Linked DNA regions of Homo sapiens: regions 1, 2, 3, 4, 5 and 7 are each linked to region 6. Evidence: promoter capture Hi-C in 16 types of primary human blood cells and fetal thymus (Javierre and others, 2016). All regions are on one chromosome and are shown on one strand. Each heading gives the region's core, a stretch centred on a gene start or on the middle of the fragment in contact. The rest is flanking DNA. Distances are from core to core; before and after follow the strand shown.

What was found. The method cuts DNA at HindIII sites, captures the fragments that hold promoters and counts their contacts. A CHiCAGO score of 5 or more calls a contact.
Region 1: a contact is called between a fragment that was not itself captured here and the fragment with the promoter of CETN2 in region 6, in 1 of 17 cell types (M0 macrophages). The highest score is 5.1, in M0 macrophages.
Region 2: the fragment with the promoter of CD99L2 here is called in contact with the fragment with the promoter of CETN2 in region 6 in 6 of 17 cell types (M1 macrophages, activated CD4 T cells, non-activated CD4 T cells and 3 more); the score reaches 8.1 in M1 macrophages.
Region 3: a contact is called between a fragment that was not itself captured here and the fragment with the promoter of CETN2 in region 6, in 4 of 17 cell types (naive CD4 T cells, activated CD4 T cells, total B cells and 1 more). The highest score is 6.9, in naive CD4 T cells.
Region 4: a contact is called between a fragment that was not itself captured here and the fragment with the promoter of CETN2 in region 6, in 2 of 17 cell types (naive B cells and naive CD4 T cells). The highest score is 6.1, in naive B cells.
Region 5: a contact is called between a fragment that was not itself captured here and the fragment with the promoter of CETN2 in region 6, in 2 of 17 cell types (M2 macrophages and endothelial precursors). The highest score is 7.0, in M2 macrophages.
Region 7: a fragment that was not itself captured here is called in contact with the fragment with the promoter of CETN2 in region 6 in 1 of 17 cell types (M0 macrophages); the score reaches 5.1 in M0 macrophages.

What each region holds. Positions count from the first base shown.
Region 1 is chrX:151,718,742-151,721,445 of GRCh38, forward strand. FATE1 (fetal and adult testis expressed 1) reads left to right here. Exons shown (of 5, transcript NM_033085.3): 3 at 2,654-2,704. Among named protein-coding and RNA genes, the nearest start is that of FATE1, 4.1 kb to the left of the region's middle. The HindIII fragment of the contact is 2,313 bases long and covers 188-2,500 here.
Region 2 is chrX:150,897,050-150,899,923 of GRCh38, forward strand. CD99L2 (CD99 molecule like 2) reads right to left here and starts at 1,619. Exons shown (of 11, transcript NM_031462.4): 1 at 1,473-1,619. The coding sequence starts at 1,539. RefSeq lists a silencer at 1,294-1,903. The HindIII fragment of the contact is 7,642 bases long and covers 559-2,874 here.
Region 3 is chrX:150,982,384-150,985,187 of GRCh38, forward strand. HMGB3 (high mobility group box 3) reads left to right here and starts at 952. Exons shown (of 5, transcript NM_005342.4): 1 at 952-993. RefSeq lists an enhancer at 1-661 and a silencer at 783-982. The HindIII fragment of the contact is 2,746 bases long and covers 86-2,804 here.
Region 4 is chrX:151,149,668-151,152,648 of GRCh38, forward strand. No RefSeq gene overlaps it. Among named protein-coding and RNA genes, the nearest start is that of MIR4330, 17 kb to the right of the region's middle. The HindIII fragment of the contact is 576 bases long and covers 1,239-1,814 here.
Region 5 is chrX:151,735,093-151,738,045 of GRCh38, forward strand. All of the region lies in intron 1 of CNGA2 (cyclic nucleotide gated channel subunit alpha 2), which reads left to right. Among named protein-coding and RNA genes, the nearest start is that of CNGA2, 1.8 kb to the left of the region's middle. The HindIII fragment of the contact is 1,434 bases long and covers 596-2,029 here.
Region 6 is chrX:152,829,299-152,832,293 of GRCh38, forward strand. CETN2 (centrin 2) reads right to left here and starts at 1,459. Exons shown (of 5, transcript NM_004344.3): 1 at 1,410-1,459; 2 at 304-462. The coding sequence starts at 1,412. It overlaps NSDHL (NAD(P) dependent 3-beta-hydroxysteroid dehydrogenase NSDHL), which reads left to right and starts at 1,765. Exons shown (of 8, transcript NM_015922.3): 1 at 1,765-1,819. RefSeq lists a silencer at 1,359-1,698. The HindIII fragment of the contact is 2,163 bases long and covers 578-2,740 here.
Region 7 is chrX:151,697,521-151,700,276 of GRCh38, forward strand. PRRG3 (proline rich and Gla domain 3) reads left to right here. Exons shown (of 4, transcript NM_001372163.1): 2 at 1,264-1,301; 3 at 2,476-2,636. The coding sequence starts at 1,295. Among named protein-coding and RNA genes, the nearest start is that of PRRG3, 3.4 kb to the left of the region's middle. The HindIII fragment of the contact is 1,106 bases long and covers 722-1,827 here.

The DNA of each region.
Region 1 (2,704 bases), core at 94-2,593, 1.1 Mb before region 6:
CCCATCATTCTGTAGCCAGTGCTTTTCACCACATTCAGATGGATGAGGGAAAATTTTAGAAAATGGTGGCTTTACTGTTACCACAGTGAAGTTTGAAAGTTACTGGGGGGCAATAAGGTTGGAGAGGGAGGGAGACTCGATTGCTGAAATGATTTATTGGGTGGCCCCAGTGAAGAATGAGAAAAAAAGCTTCCAGGTTAGAGGTTTCCTGGGAATAAAAATAAGTCAAATATTGAGTTGACTTTTTGTGTCCAAAGACAGAAGCCAAATCAAGTTGCTCCAGGAGGTCAGGCTCCTGCAAACCACTAATGTCCCTGAGACTAGGGGAGATATAATCTCTGGTTTAATTAAAGTTGACTACAAGGGCTAGAGGTAGACTGTTTGAAAATATAGACATTATATTGAATTTATAAATTAAATTTAGAAATTTAGAATTAGGAAATCTAATTTACTAATTCTATTTATTTATTAATTCATTCATTCCTTTATTTTTGAATAAAACAGTTAATGGAACTGCCTCTAGGAGAACCATAATATGCAAGGGTGAGAAAAGTTAATAATGCTATCCTGCTGACTTGGAAAAAAGCAGTGTGCCTTTAAAATTACATGGAAATTAAAATAACATTTTTTGAAATGATTAACAGAGAGAAGTTGGGACTTGGTGGGTTAACAACAAACTATGTTATCTGAAACAAACAAACAAATTCCAGCCATCAGCCATTCATCCTTATTTTTTGCCTTCAAATCTCTCAAAATTTTTTTTGTCCTTCTGATTCCAATTTATAGGAAAATCAAGCAATGGTCTGAAAATTTTTCTAAGAGACATCATTGATCAAATTATAGTCATGGGGTCTCCCTAATACCCATTATCTTTTTAATGCAATTTTTGAAGTATCTTAAGAAAATAAAATATTGTGACCATGAACTACGGTTCATAAAAAAGTTGCACCAATATCTGTGTGCTCCTCTTGAGAAAGATTAGTTATGCCTTATTGCAACAAACAGAGTGCAGTGGCAAAGTTCCTATGAAAATCCTTTACACAGAAATTGATCCACCTTCAGTTTGATGTTGTTACTTCGGAACAGAAGAGGGCTGCAGATATTTCTCAGGTGACAGGTGAGCCTTGGTTGTCTATTTTTTTGTAAGAATGAGGCAAATAGAAGAGCTAACCCAGTACTCTGTGCGCCTCAGTCAGGCCTCTCAAATGACAGGCTCTACTTCAGCAGGGTGAGCGGGTAAGGAACTGGCTGTCATGTGGGGCACCCTGAACCCTGCCAGAATGAAGACGGTTTTATTTTGTGTCACTTTCACCCCAGCTTTCTTATTCATTTGGTTCAGGTTTTGGCTTGGCGGTAAGTGCCTGGCTGCCAACCAGGAGTGAGAAGTGTGGATGACTGCTTCCTACATAGATCATTAGTTAAAGGCCCTGTTTTCCTCCCTCCCCTCCTTTCTTGTGATATGCCGCCATTGTCCTTGCAGGTCTAAGTCCTCTCTGGATGCTGCTGGCGGGGGCCTCCTTTGTCAGCTGAGTCCCATCTGCTTCCCATCCACAATGAGGCCTAGTTCCTCCATGGACACTTCCTAGATTCCAGAATTTTATTGAATTCTTTCATTAGCTGATGCCTCTTGTGTTGTCTTCTGTCTTATGGGTTTGTACTGTTTTACTGTCTTCACTGGCAATTAGTGGAGCCTTAACAGGAAGGAGTGTTAAATATGAGGGACATCGTAGTGTAATGGCTGAGAGTATAACCTCTGGACTGAAATGTCCTGGGTTCAAATTACTGCTCTGCTACTTCCTAGCTGTGTGACTTGGACAAGGTAATTAACCTCTCTGTGTTTCAGTTTCCCCTACTTTCAAAACGGGATGATAATGATACCGTTTCACAGGGCTGTGACGAGGAATCAGTCACTTAGTATTGGTAAGGGCTTAGAGGATGGCATGGTCCCTGGCATGTGGTGTGTGTTAAATAAGCAGCTTGTGAAACATTTCATCTTGAACTGGAAACCTAGAACTATGATTTGAGCCCAGGCAGGTCTGGCACCAAAAGCCACGCTCTTTTCCTCTATCCCCCACTGATGCTTCAAAGGCATCAGATGGCCCTGGCCCAAGGGCTCTGGGCCAGAGATGTACATGCTAGGGAGTTGTTGGCAGATGGATAAAAATGAAAGCCACAGGGATGGCTGGCTGAGCTTACCCAGAGGAGTTGCTGGTTTCCCAGTAGCCAGGGTTCTAGCCTTAGCCCTGACATTTACCACGCATCCTTGGAAAGTAAAGGCATCTCGCCAGGCCTCCATGGCCTGGGCTGCCAATCAAGGTTTTACGTTCTCCTTCAGTAGGTTGCTCAGCCTCTCAGCTAATACCTGCATGTGAAAGTTCTTGCAGAGGACAGGGACCCCTGTTACTGCTCCTCTTTTGCCACAGCCTGCCTGGATGACCAAGAGCTACCGAGGAGCATGGTGTGGGTGGGGTGGTGGCCAGCAGCCTGTGTGGGGTTCCCAAGCTTTCCTAGCGGCCTGAAGCTGCCAGCCCTTGATTCCAGAGACCAGGCACCATGTGATTCCCCATGGGGTGCACCATTGGCTCTGGGCAAACTGGAGAAGCCACTCATGTGGGGTTGGGCAGGCTACTTTACTGACCATTCCTTTCTTCAGGGGTCCCAGCTGCCAAAGCCCAGAATGCTGAGAGAATCAGGCCATGGGGAT
Region 2 (2,874 bases), core at 369-2,868, 1.9 Mb before region 6:
TTCTAACTTTTTTTGTGCTTCTACTTTCAAGATTTCCATGTCATTAGATGCAAGTCAATCAAATGATCATACATTTTCCTACAAATGCATTGTAAACAAAATAAAAATTTTATCCCAAAGGGAAAATGAAAAAGAAAATTCAACAACTCTTTACCCCTGTAACTTCCTTTATTTTTCTCCATAGCACTGACAATATATATAGATTTCAATGTTGGGCTTGTTTTCTGCCCGGACCAGGATGTAAGCTCCATGAAGACAGTCTCAATTTTGTTCACTACCGCATCATCAGTTCCTAGAACAGAGCCTGGCACCTCTGCAGAATGTTAAATGGCTCTTCGTGAATCAACTCCAGGTGGGTTGCCCACATGAAAAACATTTCTGCATCTTTTGCAAAAGTGGCTTGGCTAGTACCATCCACTGTTTTCCAGTGTTCCTTTATGTGACATAAATCTTACTAGAACTCAGTACTAGGACAAAGTGTGTGTGTGTGTGTGTGTGTGTGTGTGTTTCCTGAGCTCACATATTTTCCACCAGCTGGGTTCGCTTCTATTGTCAGGAAGCTTGGAGCATAATTCACGTTCAATTACAGTGTTTCCCTTAATCCCTTTTTCTGATGGGGACATAGGATATAAATAAGTGTAAGAAGATTCTGTTGGTACATGTTTAAGACCCTATTTTTAACCACAGACTGCATTTATTCTACTAAGATGCTTCTCAAACTTGAATGTGCCAGAGAATCACCCGCGGATCTAGTTGAAATGCAGAATCAGACTCAGTAGGTCGGGGGCGGGGCGTGAGATGCTGCAGTTCTTACAAGCTCCCAGGTGATGCCTATGCGGCTGGGCCCTGGACCACATTTTGAGTAGCAGAGGGTCTAAGAAACGTGCTTCCTTGATTCAGCGGGATTTCTCTCTCCTGCTCCTTGGCAAAACATGACCAAAGTCTCAAAAACTGAAGCGGACGGCAGAAGCACCTAGAGAGCTGGTTAGACCTACGCCTCGCTGACCCCCCCCCCCCCCCCCCACAGCCCATGCCCGCTGTGATCCCGATGAAAGGGGCTAGGAATCCACCTAGGAAGTTCCCCAGGTGCTTCTGCTGTCGGTGGCCTCGCAGCAAATTTCGAAAATGACTGCTCTCTTCAAGGTTTTCTCAAAGGTAAACTCTTGGGGACAGCTGTTGTCACCAGTGGTACACCTGCTCGTTCAGGATTTTAGGGGGCCCATCCCGCTGTTTCCAGCCCAGCGTCAGGAGGGGACCCACCCCTCCTCTCCGGCTACTCCGACCGCGGCGGAGTCAACCCCCACGGGCCCGGGGCTCGGACCCCCGCCGCTCCGCCTCGCACAGCCGGGCCGGCCGGTGGCAGCCACCGCAGGCCCGAGAGGCGGGGACCGTGCCGCTCATGCGCAGAGCGACCCCTGGGCCCACAAGGCGGGGTCCCCGCGCGGTCCCCGCGCGCCCCCCGCCCGCCTTACCTCGCTGGACCAGGGTGGCCAAGGAGAAAGCGAGGCAGACAAGGAACGCCGAGCGCCAGGCCACCATGGCTGGGAGCAGGCGGAGGGCCCCGGAGGAGCACAGTTAGCGCGAGAGCGCCCGAAGGGGAGGCCGAGGAGGAGCGGGAGGAGGAGCCCCGCCGCCTCTGCAGGGTCCCGCCCAAAGCCCGCGCGCGCGCGCGGCGCGGCCCCGGGAAGATGGAGGTCGGGCGCGCTAGAGAGCCGGCGCCTGAGGGCGCCTGGGCTGGGGTTAGGCCGGGGGGCGGGGCGAGGCTGCAGTATCGGGGGCGGGGCCGCGTTCTGGAGGCGGGGCTCCGGGCGAGGGGCGTGGCCTGCGGGCACCCGGTGGGTGGGGAGGCCTGGGTTGGGTTGGGCTGGGTCCAGCGGCAGCGCGCGGTCCGCAGACCCTGTCCCACCTCGGTCCTCGAGACCGAAGTCTCGGAGGTGGCCCCGCGGACCTGGAGCAGTGAGTCACCAGTGCCGGGGAGCGGGAGGCGGCAGCGCCGGTGGGCGCCGATTTCCTCCCGGGTGACCTTGAGAAGGGCTCTTCCCCTTCTGGCCTTGGTGTTCTCCCGGTGAAGGGTTGTTCCCTTGGGGCCCCTCCAGACACCGTCCAGCACGGAGCCCCGCACTCTGTCCCCACCCGCTGTTCCCTGCAGGAGTGAAACCCTGGCCGGAGACTGAAGAAAAGGACCGTTTTCGTGACTGGCTGCGGTCAACAAGCAGTGACACGTCTCGAGAAAACGAGGCCGGGGGCGCCCGGGTGGGCGACAGGGGAGGATGGGGGCGTCCCGGAGCCGAAGCGCCGCGGGCTCGGGAGACTGGGGGTAGGGACTGGGTCAGCTCTCCCGAGGCTTTGATGAATGCGCTGAAAGTGCAAGTTCATATCTGCAGAGTCGATCTCAAAAACGTGCTTAATGACCGACAAACGCGCTGCAGTCCTTTCCCATGAACCCCCGCAAACGGAGTCCGTCTCCCAGACCCGAAGAAATCAGATTCCGATACGATACTGTGCCGACCAGCAAAATGCCCGCTGCAGCAGTTGATGGGAACGCTCCCTAGAAGAGCCCCAGCTGCAACCGGCTCTCGAAGACAAAGAGGAAGCGCTACTGCTCTCCGGAGTGGTAGCGTGAGCCTGTCCCTGCCATTATGCGGCACCGGCTGCCCAGGGCCACATCCTCCTTAGAGGGCGGCTACTACCACCTCCCCTCAATATCCATTCGGCAGCTTTCCTGTGCCCCCAACCCAGCCCTCGCTGCCATAGGCACCCCCCTCAGTGGCTCCCACCAACCCCTAAGGAACAGTGGGGTGTGGGGTCTCCCTGAGATGGAGCCGAAATCTCCCGTGTGGCTTACATCCATTGCCCTGAATCTTAGGGCTGCAG
Region 3 (2,804 bases), core at 209-2,708, 1.8 Mb before region 6:
AGCTCAAGGCCATACCACCAGCCAATGGCAAAGTGGAGATCAAGTCAAATCCCATTCATTCATTCATTCACTCATTCATTCCCGAAGCTTTAATTCTTTGCTCTAGGGTGTGTCAGGAGAGCAGAGGGAATGAGGGCCTTGAACCGAGACAGTGAAGAGGGTAAGAAGAAAAGTGTTATTCTTTGCCCACAAAACTACAATTTCTCACAAATTCTCTGCTCTTGCCAAATTTTGTTTTCCTCTTTTAGCCCGTCGGTTCCGCAATTTCGGGCGCAAATAAAGACCTTCTGGCATTTAGTGGAAAGAGCCTAGTTGAGCACGATCCGCAGAAGCGGAATCAGGTGGCTTTCGGATAGGCAGCGAGATCCGAGGACTAAATCCCGAGGTCTTGGCGAGCAAGCAGCTGCCCTCCGCCAGGCATCGAGGAGCGAGCTGCCGCCGCGTTTCTGTCGCGGCGCCGCGGCCGAACCGGGTAGAGGTGGTCTACCATCGGCCCTTCGTGGTGGGCCCAGGGGTGTTTCCCCGGGCAGGGGAGCTGACTGCAGGCCAGGGGCGCCAAGGCCGCGGTGCGGTGGGAGCAGAGGGCAGCGCAGCGGGGCTGGACTTCATCTTCCCACGCCAGAGGCCGAGGCCTCCGGGAATCGCAGGGCCACCTCTTCAAAGCCCTTGGCGATCCCAGTTCTGTTCCCCGAGGGGGCTGGCGAGGTGGGCGGGGCGGGCAGGCGAGACTAGGTCTTTCCCTGTTTGGCCTCCGTAGCCGGCGCCGGCGGGTCGTTCTGTTTGAATGAATGATCCCAGCAGCCGCGCCCAATGGGCGTCCACGCCTGCTTAATATGCATGAGGCCCGCAGCCAATGGCCAGGCGAGGAGGCTGTTTTAAACGGCAGAGCCCGCTGGCCAATCAGGCGGCTCTCGTGGAGGCAGCTAGCGCGAGGCTGGGGAGCGCTGAGCCGCGCGTCGTGCCCTGCGCTGCCCAGACTAGCGAACAATACAGGTACGTCTCGCACCGCCCGCTCCCGCCGCCGCCGCCGCCGCCGCCGCCGCCGCCGCCGCCGCCGCCGCCGCCGCCGCAGCGCCCGCACAACTTTCCGGCCCGCGCCGCCGTGAGCGCGCCCTGCCGCCGCCTCCCCCTGCCTCTACTCCCCATTCCCTTCCCGCCCCCTCCGCCTTCCCTCCTGCTAGGCGGCCGGGAAGGAAGAAGCAATTCAGGTGTTTCAACTTTTCCAACGCGTTCCCCGAGCTCCCCGCTTTCGGGGGTCGGCCCCCTCGGCGGACGCCCGCCCGTGGCGGCCCCAGGGGCCGCAGCCGGGAACCCAGGGCCCCCGAGGCCAGATGTTTGGGCAGCTGCGGCTGCGGCGGCTGGGCGAGCAGAGGGGCGGCTGCGGGCTGTGGGCGCTGGGCGGCGGCAGCGGGAAGGGGGCCGGGAGTTCCCCGGCCCGCGACGGACTCCGCTGGGGAACGGGCGGCCGGTGCCCGCCGGGGGCTGCGCGGCTGGTGCCCGCCGGGGGCCGCCGCACGGGCAAACTTCGCTCCCGGGCTTGGCCCGGCGCCGCGCGGGCCCGCAGGCTACGCCGCTGGCTCTGCGTTAACATGGCCGTCGCGGAGCGCCCGGTGGCCCGGGGGGGCGCGGGCCGGCCGCCCCCCTCTCGCCTCCCGCCCGCCCGGCGCCGCCGCCGCCGCTAACATGGCTGGCGCGGCGCTGGCCTCCGGCGAGGGCAGGGGAGGCGGGCGGAGCGGTCGGCGGGGCGCCCGGCGGGCTCCGGCCTCGGCCCCGGCGCCCGCGGCCCGGGGCGGGCGGCTCGGAGGGCCGGGGGCGCCGCTGCGGGCCCTGGAGCGGCCGAGCGTCATGGCTGCACGGGCGCCTTTGTTATCCCGAGGAGTGCGCCCCGCGCCGGGGGGCGGGGAGGTCCGGCCCGGGCCCCCGAGCCCCCGGGCGGCCCGGGCGGGGCGGGGCGGGGCGGGGTGGGGGCCGACGGGCGGGCGGCGGCGGCGGGGCCCGGGCCGCTTTGTTCGCCGCTGTCGCCGCCGCCCGCGCCGGCCGCGCGCGGATCAGCCATTTTAGCGAGTGGGACTCCGAGGCGCGGCGGACGCCGCCACCAGTGCCGCGGCTGCCGCCGGCCCGGCCGCACACCCCCCGCGCACCGCCACCGCCGCCGCCCCCGGCCCCGCGCGTCCCCCGGGGATGACAGCGGCGGATTTCAGGGGCACTTTCTTTCATCAGGAGGCTTTTGACAAAATGGAAGGTGAATTACGGGTGTCCCGGTGACCCGGCACGGGGGCCGAGGCGGGCTGCCTGCTGCCGGCCGGGACTCCCCCGCTCCCGGTCCCGCCCCGCCCGGGCCGCCGCTGCGGGTCTCTGTTGGGCAGCCTCCTGGGCGGCTGCTGCCAAGGGGAGCTCTTTAGTTTTACATGATGACCTTGGGTGTGGGAAAAGGAAAAGATGGCGGGAAGCTGGGGGGTGGGACAGGGACGATGACATGCCGCAGCTGCATTTTTATTTGGAAACTTTGGAGAAAGTGTTCTCGGCTGGACCTGCATTCTGGGTTACAGATGAGCACGACTAGCCCTTTTTATACACCCTCCCCCTTTAGATAGTGACGAAGTGATGAATTGAACTAATAGTACGGGGGTACCTGCTCACTTTCCAGATCTCCCGTGTTGTAAAGCCGTTTTTTTAGTAAGCCAAAACACATCAACAATAGTGACAATTTCAGATGTCCCCTACGTATAGTTCTCCTGCTTTGGTCTTGTGTTCAGCAGTGGTAAGAGTTGTTGTTTTTAATTGTGTTAACAGTTAGCAGATGA
Region 4 (2,981 bases), core at 277-2,776, 1.7 Mb before region 6:
TAAGATGACATCTCATGACGGTTTTGATTCGCATTTCTTCTGATGATTAGTGATGTTGAGCATTTTTCATATATCTGTTGTCCATTTGTATATCTTCTTCTGAGAAATATCTATTCATGTCCTTTGACCACTTTTTAATGGATTACTTGTTTGTTTGTTTGTTTGTTTCCTGTTGATTTGAGTTCCTTGTACTTTCTGGACATTATTATTCCCATATCAGGTGCATATTTTGAAAATATTTTATCCCATTCAACAGGTTGTCTCTACTTTCATTTGCTGTTCAGAACTTTTTTAGTTTAAGCCCCATTTGTTTATTTTTGTTTTTGTTACCTGTGTTTTTGAGGTCTTACCCCAAAATCTTTGCCCAGACCAATGTCCTGAAGTATTTCTCCAATGTTTTCTTCTGGTAGTTTCATAGTTTCAGGCTTTACATTTAAGTATTTAATCTATTTTGATTTTTTTATGTGGTGAGATATAGGGGTCTAGTTTCATTTTTCTGCATACAGATAGCCAGTTTTCTCAGCACCATTCATTGAAGAGACATCATTTTCCTATTGAATGTTCTTGGCATCTTTGTTGAAAATCAGTTGGATGTAAGTACATGAATTTATTTCTGGGTTCTGTTCTATTGGTCTATGTGTCTGTTTTTATGCCAGTACTATGCAGTTTTTGTTACTATAGCTTTGTAGTGTATTTTGAAGTCATAGTGTGATGTCTCCAGCTTTATTCCTTTTCAACAATTTAATTTTTATGTGCCTTGTGGTTTTCTACATGTTTAGTCTTCTTGGAGTTTGTTGAGCTTTTGATCTGTGGGTTTATAGCTTACAGTAAATTTTGAAAAATTTTGGCCATTATTTCTTTGAATATTTTTTCTGCACCCCCTTCTGAGTCCCCTAGATCACTGAGATTCTGTTTATTATTTTCAATCTTCATTTCATATAGATTTAATTGTTATGTTTTGAAGTTTACTAACCTTTTCTTCTGTAAAGTCTAATTAGTGTTACTCCTATCCAGTGCAATTTTCATTTCAGGTACTATATTTTTCTGCACTGGAAGTTCCATTTGGCTCACATTTTATTGCTTCTTAGTGTATCTGACAATTTTTTGATTGGATTCTGGACACTGTCAATGTTACATCATTGAGTGGATTTTATCTTCTTCAAAGACTGTGGGACTTTGTTTTGACAGAGAAGCAAGTTGTCTGTCACTCTGTTTTGTCTCTTTAAGTTTTGTTTTTAAGCTTTGCTGGAGGAGGTCCAGAGTAGCCTTTTCTCTGGGGATACCTCAGATTTATTACTAATGTATGATCCCTCTGGGGTCTCCATTGAATGACATAGATAACTACTGAGGATTCTTTACTCCTCTGGGCCAGAGTTTGAATGTCTGCTAGTCTTGTGTGAGTTCTGAGCATAGTTCTTTTAAAACTTCCCAGTTGTTCTTTGCTCACTCTAGTACTCAGTAAAGACCTAAGGAGAGCCCATGTCAGATTTCTGGAGTTCTTTCTCCATGCAGTTGCCTCATCTCTGGTACTCTGTCCCGCACATTTTAGCTACTTCAGCCTCCTTGAACTTTAATCTCCAATTCTTCAACTCAGGGAAACTTCTTTGCTCTGCTTGAGTCACTCCTCCATGCTCCAAGGTTTGGGCTTACCTCATTTCTTTCTTTATCTGTGATGCCATGCGTGTTGCCTCTTGTCTAGTGCCTAAAATTAGTTCTTTCGTATGTTGTATCCAACTTCCAGTTGCTTATGGTGGAAGAGTAATTCCAGATTCTGTTACTTCTTCAAGGCCAGAGATTTACTTTTATGTTTTCCAAGCTTTTTGAAATAAGTATAAATCAATTTTCTAAAAAAATATTAAAAATTACATTGTAAAGAAAAATGACATGCACACGTGTGCAAGACACCTACACCATGAAGAATATTCCAGAGCATAGGTTTGGCCCATGGGTGCTGTCTGTGCTCCTTCAGGCTTCAGACTCAGACCTATGCTTATAATTCCTGGAAATCCACAAATTCACCTCATGACTAATTGCTTTTCATTACTTGAAAGTATCTATGTGTTGGAGGAAAAATTTGGCTACAATCAAGGAAAGGTAGCAAGTTGAGTCTCATCTGGTTACTGAGATTGTGTACTTCTTATTCTTTCCAAATTCTTCAGTGGTGCCAAGGTCTCTTACGGACACTAGAGGGCGCTCTTTCACTGAGAATGACATACTCTCCCTTACCGATTGCCTCAGTTTGCACCAGCTCTAAGATGGAATCTTGCTGGATCTTAGTTCTTTAGTTGCAGCCCGGGCTTGCCCTGCCACAGGGCCCCAGGTGGCCTGTTCCCCCATCTCTGCAGTACCAGACCTATCCATTTCAAAGGCCAAATTTCTTTCCGCTCCTATCCCCACTCTCAGAATGATTCAGCCTGGCTTCCCGGGATACCTCCTAGCACCAGGGCTAACCTATTTTATTTCCTCTTCGCCAGTGGTCGCTGAGGAAGGAGGTCTGGGTCACTGGGTATTCCTCTTCAGGCTGAAAGTTTCTCTAAGGTCCATTATACAGATTTAAAATCAGAGAAATGGATTCCCCAACAATTCCATGTGCTTCAAAGCTTCTCTGGGGGTGCACCCAGGAACTGTGAGAAGTGACCCACTGGATCATCCTGGGACAAGTCTCTACCTGTATCCGGATCTTGGCCTCTTCATTTGTATATTGAGGCAGGTAGGTATGACAATGTCTAGCAAGAGCACAGGGAGAGCAGGGGTAGTGATGGGGGCTGGAATTTTTTTTTTTTTTTTTTTTTTTTGAGACAGGGTCTCACTCTGTCACCTAGGCTGGAGTGCAGTGGTGCTGTCACTGTGTTCTCAACTTCCCAGGCTCAAGTGATCCTCCTACTTCAGCTTCCCAAGTAGCTGGGACTACAGGCGTGCGCCACCATGCCCAGCTATTTTTTTTTTTTTAATCTTTTGTAGAGACAGTGTCTTACTATGTT
Region 5 (2,953 bases), core at 63-2,562, 1.1 Mb before region 6:
AACTCCTTGACTAGGCTGGTTTTTCTTTAAAGTCCTGGGCTGGCTGCTCAACTTGTGGATAAGGAGAAAAGAGGCCTACAACTCCACCTTGACTGTGTTTGGACTTTTTACCAAATAATCATGCCTTACTCTAGGTTGTTAAACCACCCTCCTTGAGAATCCCACTGCTCATCTAAGATCTGTTGCCCATCTCTGTTCTCTTTGGTAGGTACATGGTCTGTCATCTTCCTTGCCAAGCCTTTTCTTGTCCTCGCACTTGTTTGGTATCTCCTGTCTGTCCTTGCAGCAGCTATTGCAAACGTTCTGGCCTCCAAAGTCTGCACCTACTGCTGCCTGGTGTCTCTGAAGATGAGATCCCCCCATCCCTCCCATTTCACTTAGAACACTGGGGTTTTGCAAGAGTGAATCCCTTCAACTGTCTTGTGGCCTGTTTCTCAGCAACCCCTTCCCATTGTCCTGGATTTGTCTCCTGTCACTTCCTCTGGTACCTGAACCTTCCCATTCCACCCATGTTTCATGGGCTTCAGCCTCAACTGGAGTGGCTCACAAGCACACATATTTTTATTATCTACTGAATTCCTCCTCAAAACCTTTAAGCTTGCTTTATTATCTTCTTGACATAGAAAATAACAGCAACAGCAAGACAGAGAACCTTTGTCAGCCCCCTATCCTCCTCCAGTTCCCACTCTATCTTTCCTCTTTTTCTTGCTCAGTCTCTTAGAAAGACTGAGCTATGTGCTCTATCTCTTGTCTGTCCCCTCCTACTCCTCGCTTGAAACTTCATGAAACAAGCTCTGTTTGACCACCACTCCTTGACGCTACTCTTGATAAGGTCCCCAGCGAGGCCTCTATTGTTCCACCCAGTGCCCGCTCCAGCTCTCATCTCAGGGGGAAGAAGTACCCGGCATAGAACACTTATCTTCCTGATATGGGAGGGGGGCATTGGCCTTGCAGACAGCTCCCTTCCTGAAAGTTCTGCCTTCCCTGGGAACTCCCTCATGTTTCTCACATCCCCAGCCTCATTCTCCTTCACTCACCCAGCCCCTCAGCTGTCTTTCATGGTTGCAGCTCCCCAGAGCTCTACCCTTAGCTTTTTTCTCTGTTCTCATGATATGGGGATGGACACATCCCCCTGAGAGCTTTACCTGTAATGTAAACCCTGGTGATCATGCGCCCACCTCCAGTCCAGACCCCAGTGAACACTGAGCCATCTGGAGTCCACTGCAGCAGGCCTGGAGAGCCATGTTGAAGGCTTGAGACCAGTCCAGGGCCTTGGGGTTGGAGGGCAATGGGTGGACAGAACTTTGACGCTTTTTGTGGGGACAATCTACTCAGGGCAGAGGCTGCTTGGATGTGATAAAGGAAACAAGGAGTTACGGTTGACACCAGGCTTCCAGCTTGAGTGACTGGGAAGAGGGCAGGCCCCTTTCAGAGGTGGGTAACTTTGAGGAGGAGCTGATTTGACATGATGGTAGCTGGAGCCTTGGGACTTGAGGTTTCCTGGAGAGGGTGTATACATGAGACCCACCAGCCCCACTGCCTTGTTTCCAGCAAGCAGCATGAGGGGGCAGTTTCTGGCAAAGGGGAGGGTGTGCAGGCAGTCAGGCTCAGGGACGGGTCTGTTTCCTGGTACAGAAGGAGCAGGGGTCATGGGGTGGGGGAATCTGCCTTTGTGACAGAACCTTAGAGAGGATGTGAACATATGCTGTGCCCCCAGCACTGGCCTGGCCCTGGATTACAGCCCTTTTGATCTGCCAGCTTCATCTTCAACACCAGCTTTTCCAGGAGGCCAGCCCTGAAACTCTGGTGCGAATGGCTCCGGCTTTGTTTGCATTGCCTGAAACTTTTTGTCTCCATGGTCTGCTGCCTCCAGGGTCCAAGCAGGGACTCAGTGATGCTGGTTCCTTTCCCTCAAGTGCCCTCGTTACTATCCTGGTGCCATAGTTCCGCAGAGAGCACCAGGTGAGCATCTCTGAGGCTGTTTGACGTGCCTGCCATCGCCATGGTGACAGCTTCAGAGGCTGGAACAAGCTTAGGCGGGGGTTGAGGGAGCTCCAGGGACAGCTTCCGGACTGTGGGTCCAGCAGCATGGGCTGTGGGAAATCTGGGGGTCATGCTGACCATTTCTGCCCACACCTGGTAGGGCATGCCAACCAGCCCTGGCAGGGAAGAGCTCCTCCAAGTATCTCCTGACTCTGTGGCAAGAGACACTGTGGGACACAATCTCCTGTCCCTCCTCTAGATTGTTACCTCCTCGGCTGTTCCTTCTCCATCTATTTTGTGGACACCTCATCCTCTGTGCAACTCTGAAATATTGGGGTTCTCCACAACTCTGCCCCAGACCCTCACTCTGTCTCCTCTTTCTTTGTGATCCCACCCACTCTCTCCATTGCTCCCCACATCCACTCCTCTGAGTCCCATTCAATCTCCTTCCCAGATAGTTCCGCACTCTGCCCTCTTGTCTTGGGCTCCATTGGTACTCTTGTCCAGCCTCCTCCCTGCCCCAACCTTCACCCTTGTTCTCCCTCTAATGCAGGCTCCACAGAGCAGCCAGAGGGATTTTTCTGGCACAGAACACTGACTTGTCCCTCTCCTGCTCTGCGCAGAGGAGAGGGCCCTCACTATCAAACTATCAAAGCTGAAACAAAACAAAACAAACAAAAACTGTTTAAGCCATCTTCCTGTGCCTTCGCTTTGCAGATGTCTGGCACATGCTTAAGCTGCCGAGCAGCTCCAAGGCAGCCACTGCCCCAAAGCCCTGGCCCAAGGGAGGAGGTGCGTCTCCCTGGCCCAGAGCAGCTGCTCTCTACCCCACACCTCCCCAAGCCACCCAGCTTTCTGGTTCTCCTCACTGGAGACCACCTCAGAGCTCATGCTCCTTAGGGAAAAGGGAAGCTACTCTGGGTCAGGGAGATGCACTTCCTTGCTTGGGCCAGGGCTTTGGGGCAGTGGC
Region 6 (2,995 bases), core at 209-2,708:
CTCAATAAGCACATCTAAAGTAGCAGGAGCAAAAATAACAGTGTTGAGAGCATTAAGCCAGCATCTGATGTGGTCATGTTAATATGATTGGGGAACACTATGACATTGATCTAATTGATATTTGCAATCAATTTTATTGAATAATACTCAAAGTAAGTAAAGACAGGAAAACAGCACAGTACAACCTCCCCTGTTACTTACTGCAGGGAGAAGAGGGCAAAAGGGGTAGAGAGGTGATAGGGAGATGACAAGGAAGAGGCAGAGGAAAGGAAGGGCAGTACGGCAGGAATGCACAGAGCTTGCCTTCAGTTCTTTAACATCTATGGTGCCAGTTCCATCCGCATCGAAAAGATCAAAAGCTTCCCGGATCTCCTGCTTTTGCTCTTCAGTAAGCTCAGGCTTAGGGCTCATTCTTTTTCGCTGAGAACTTGATGCCATGTTTGCCTTCTTAAAGTTGGAGGCCTTTATATGTTATGCAATACACAAGCACAATAATATATCATACAGTCCATATTTACATAACATAGTTACAGACACCCATATGTATTTTTAAAGTCATTTATATAACCAATTCCAAAGCTTTGCTTAAAAAGAAAGATAACAGGGTTTACTGGCAAGAACAATGAATCTTTCCATGAACTTCTACCCCTCCCTTTTCTTTACTGTTGTTTCTAGAAGCAGGGAGATCACTTGTTCAGTAAGGACACCTCTTACTGAAAATCATCCCAAAAGAGAGCCAGTCAAGAAGATGACTGTGAATAACTAGAGATAATCAGCTCTTCCCGAACGTGGGGATCCTGGTTCTGAAAACAGTCTTACGATGCCCACTCCCAGTACTCCCCTTCCCAGTAAGTACTCCGACTTCCCAATTACTTCTAGATTTGGCCAAATATTAGTAAGTTGTTAAGATGTATATTGTGTCAGTACCGAGTAATAAAACTCAATCCATCTGGCACCTTCGTGCCTTCTCCAAGAAGCTAAAGCATCCCCTGAATGCCCCTGTATTTAAATTGTAAAAAACATTGTAACAGAACACGATACACCTTTTCCCAGCTGTGTGTGGAAATTTTGGCAGAATGAGGAGGCCAGGGGGCCAAGGTCTGAGAGAGTCAGGGGCCTGTGAGGGATTCGAGTCTTTTTTGCCCAGGGAGGTTCACCGAGGGGATCAGGGAATGCAAGGGGAGCCCGAGGGGCGGGTGTGGGCCTGTTGTGGGTGAAGAGGAGGCAGCAGCGAAGCGCAGGCCCAGTAGGTTGGTTAGCGTCTGTACCCTACTCTCCCGGGAAAGAGCTCAAAGGAAAGACTGGTGCGCTAAAGCCGAGAAAGGCGCAGGAGAGGCGGCGTGGCCGAGCTGGGGCCTGGGAAGGGCTCAGCCGCTGGGCGTGGGGCGCGACAGAGCGGCAGCACTCACCATAGCCAAAGGAGTCCGCTGCCGGTTGTTAGGCAACCGACGTGTACACTGACTCGGCGCCGTTCCCACCGCCCCGCGCGCGCAGCCCCGCTCCCCATTGGCCGTCCGCTCGTCGCCGCCTCTCCCTATTGGTGCAGGGCCGAAGAGGGTGGGACTAACCTGGCAAAGCCCCGGCCCAGCGCGGGGAGGGGCACGCTGGCGACAGAGCCCCGTCTTTATTGGGCAAGATCACGCCGTGAGCGCCAATTGGCTGAGTCGTCGCCGAGCTGGGCCAATCCTCTTGGTGGAGGAAGCTCGGCTGATTCTCGGCTCACGCGGGAGGGGAGTAAAGGGTGGCGGTCCGGGCCTGGAGTTCAGTGGGTGCAGCCTGCTTGCGAGCTGAGGCCAGACAGGGGGGCGCCTACGGACGGGTAAGAGTCGTGGCCTTGCCATTGGAGGTCACCCTGTGTCAGCGACTGGGCAGTGCGGGAGGGTGGGGAGCTACGGGGTCGCCCGGGTCGGGTGCTTTCTGGGTTGACCTAAGGCTGAGTTTAGGGACCGAGTGCATCAGAGCAGCCAGAAACGATTACCTTGCGTGTTGGAGCAGGGACTGTACTCACGGGGCAACTGAGACCCGGAGAGGGGAAGGGGTGTGCTGAGTGTTGTCGCAGAGGTCGGACGGCTGGGACCTAGGAACTGAATCCAGCCGAGGCTCGCTCTTTGAGGGTGGCCCTTCGAGAGCACCCCTAGACTGACCCAGATGTATAGGCCCCAGACCAGGTTCCAAGAGAGGATCACTTTAGATCTTACCTGGCTAAAAGCAGCCCAGGACGGTGAACTGGGGCCTTTGGGAACGGACTTTGAAAGGAGTGAGGGGGATGTGAGCGAGCATGAGGGGCGGGGAGAGGTCATCAAAATATACTCTTTTTGACACCCACACAATGCAGATAAGGAGGAGCATTCCAGGCCGAGACGCCCTCATCAGCAGAGTCACAGGAGTTTTGGAAGTGAGAGGTATGCTTGGAGAATTAAAAGGGAGCGTGTGCAAGGGCTGTGGACTGACATAGACCTGCAGAAGTGGAGCTGGAGGTCCAGTTTGCCCTCTTTAGCTATCCCCGTGGCTTTTAGCCTTCACCTGTTTTTCCTCCAGGCATAGGGGCAGTAATCTAGGGAGACAGAGGGCAGAGAGTAAGTTTCTCAGACAGAGAAAGGCCCGAGGCTTATTAGAACCTTTTAAATGGAGCTGCTGCCCTTTGCCCTCTTCTCTCTTCAGCAGTGAACAGATTCCTGACTTTTGGGTCATCATCATCCCCCCAAGTAGTACGAGCCAGAGTTCTCACTGTGATCTCCAAAGCTTGGCACGACGTGTCCCCTTCCATCGCTCCACAACTCTTCTCTCGTCTGGCTCACTCCAGCCCCAGAACACTGGCTTTGTGGTTGAACCTCATGTGCCAGCCACACTCCTGCCTCTCATCTTTGTCTCAGTTGTCCTCTCCGCCTGCCTCCTCTTAGGCACCCTATTTAAGTATTGCAGCCCCCAGTACAAACAAGCCACTCACCTTGCTCTACTTTTTTTTCCAACAGTTCTTATCCCCTTCTGACCTACT
Region 7 (2,756 bases), core at 25-2,524, 1.1 Mb before region 6:
ATGCACAATAGGACACTGGAAACATAAATAGAAAGCTGTATACCACATCGCAGGACAGAAGCATATGTGCTTAACAGCTGGGCTTCCAGGGTGCCTGTGCTTGACTGGCAATAGTGACGCTGAACTTCCTGGCAGCCTAGGCAAAAAGGAGGGCTCAATGGATTCCACAGTTCACGTGTCTTGCATCCAGTTAGTCATCAAACCAGAGCTTCTGCTTGGGGAGGGGAGCAGTGGGGTGATTGCTCCCAGATGTGGACAGCTCAGCAAGGGCTCTAGAATGTGTGTATGAGTGGGCGTGTGTATTGTGGGGAGGGACAGAGGGAGCAGTGTGCTGTGACCATGGTTTAAGTACTGGCTGGATAGCTCCTTAGCAGGAGAAAGGCTTTCTGACAATAGCTCACATTAGGGGCAACTCTTGTAGTTAGCGTCTCAGTGTCGGGCATCTAAATTCATGTCTTGGCACTCTACTGCCATGGGCTTTAATGCAAAGAGAGAAGAGAGGCCTGGTTCCAGAAGATTCCAGGTATCTTGCCTCTTTGTCTGGTGAAGATGAACACAGCGGGTCACCTGGGTTTGGGCCTTCTGATTATGCCTGGGAATATGAAGAATGCAGCATTGTTGTGCATGGAGGATGAGACCCTGTAGAAGATGTGTCCACTGAAGGTTGCTATAGGCTAGTCCCAGCAGGGCAGTGACTTTTGAGATGGTTGATGCTGTGTTAAGCTTTGTTTTCAGGGAACATGCTTGTCATTGGAGGTATCTGTGACTCACCATTGTGCTCAAAATTAGTTGTGAATTCTGGTCCTGCCACTGTCACTGTTGATTTGCTTAACCTTGTCTGAGCCCGTCTCTCTGGGCTGTATCTCCTCATCTATCTCTGAGGTCCTTTCCAATTGGAAGTTGCAAAGATTCATTGAGGGGAGCAAGGAAGGAGGAGCCTCAGCCTTTAGGAGCTTTCCTTTTTAAAAGAAAAAGGTCAACCCTTGGTTCTTATAGATGCTCAGAACATGTTCTTGGGGGAAAACGCTGAAAGGTTTGCTTTGGGCCCTACTGGGCCTGGGGAGGTCTCTGGAGAAGAGCTTGGGGCAGAATGAGAAGCAGCGGAAGCCATGGGTGGCTGCATGGAGGACGACGCACCCCACAAGGTGCTGCTTCAACCTTTTGACCACGCCAGTGGGAGGGGGGCACATCCCAGAGCCAAGAGTGTGCCCTGTAAATTTCTAGATGTGGTTTCACTGCAACTTTGCTTTTCTCTTACTCCAGAGAAGTGAGACCCTGCAGCTGAGGGAGCATCATGGCAGGTGAGTTTTTCCAGGCCTGGGCAGAGCCGTGGAGGGCCATGCCTAGGGGTTCATGAGTCAGGTTTCAAGTCCTTCCCAGCTTCCCTGCCCCCTACCCCCCAAGTGGGCCTGTAGCCATTTTCCAAATGGCTGAGTAGCAGTTTTGCCCTCTCAACTCTTTGGCTCCCTTCTGAAGTATATGTCACTTGTAGATGTGTACCTACCCAGGCTTCCCTGAGTGACACTAACGTGACAGGCCATAGGGCCTGGGGAAGGGTGCCTGCCTGCTGGCAAAGACATGCCAGCTTGGGCATCCAGGGGGAGTTGCTTTACATGGGAACCAGGAAGTCCCACCTCTAGGTGAACAACAGGAGCAAACGTCACCTCTTCTTTCATCCTTCACAGTCTCAACTTAGGCTTATGTGGGTGCAGAGCTCAAGCTATTCTGGTCAGCCTGTTTGTAGCTGGGTGTCTCTCTCTGGAATAAGTAGATATGCCCACCATCCAAAGACGGTATTGTAGGGAGATTCTGTGCCCCGTCTGTAAAAGCTTAGACTCTCCATCTGAACCCTGCTACTTCCCATCCCCAGAGGTGCTCTTAGGCTCGTGTATGCCCACTTGTCTGATCTAGCCTAGGCTGGCTTTGCATTAGACTTTCTTGAACAAGACTATTGATGCCAGACCACCTGGTGGCACAGGTGGATGTTCAGGTGGAGGAACACCACCCTGGTAGAGTCTTCTAGGATTATCTGGTATTAGTTCCACCAGTATCAGCCTTAAAGAGGAATACATTCTCATTGCAAGGGCTCCAACTTTCACTTTTCAAGGTGATGCAGAAGATACTGGAGCTTTAGTCACTGAACATTGCCTACTTACAATTCTTATTCTTTCTTGTTCCTGTGCAACGTGCACTTTCCTTGCAGTTGGCTACCATTTTCTTCCATGTAGCCAGGGACCTAAACCTTGTTGGGGCTGTGGTATTCTAGACAGGTGTATCATGGCACCATAGAATGTCAGCCCTTCCATCCCTTTCACAAAGGGCCGGCCATGTCCTTTGATCAGAAGCCTGGTGTCTTGCCTGCTCACTCGGCCTTGTTTCCCTGCATAATTATGCTTCAGTTGCTGGGCTGGGCCTGGTTTGAAGGAGCCCCTGGGCATCTCCCCATTCCAGGCCTCAGTAGGGCTCTCTCCTCAGTGTTTCTGGAGGCCAAGGATGCCCATTCGGTCCTGAAACGATTCCCTCGTGCCAATGAGTTCCTGGAGGAGCTGCGCCAGGGCACCATCGAGCGAGAGTGCATGGAGGAGATCTGCAGCTACGAGGAGGTCAAGGAAGTGTTTGAGAACAAAGAGAAAACGGCATGTACCACCCTGGGGCTGGTTCTGGGAGTAGGAGTAGCCTCAGGAATAGCAAGAACAGGCCCTGGTAATGCAGACCAATCAGAAGCAAGGAAAGACACCCAGCCTAAGGCATAGCCA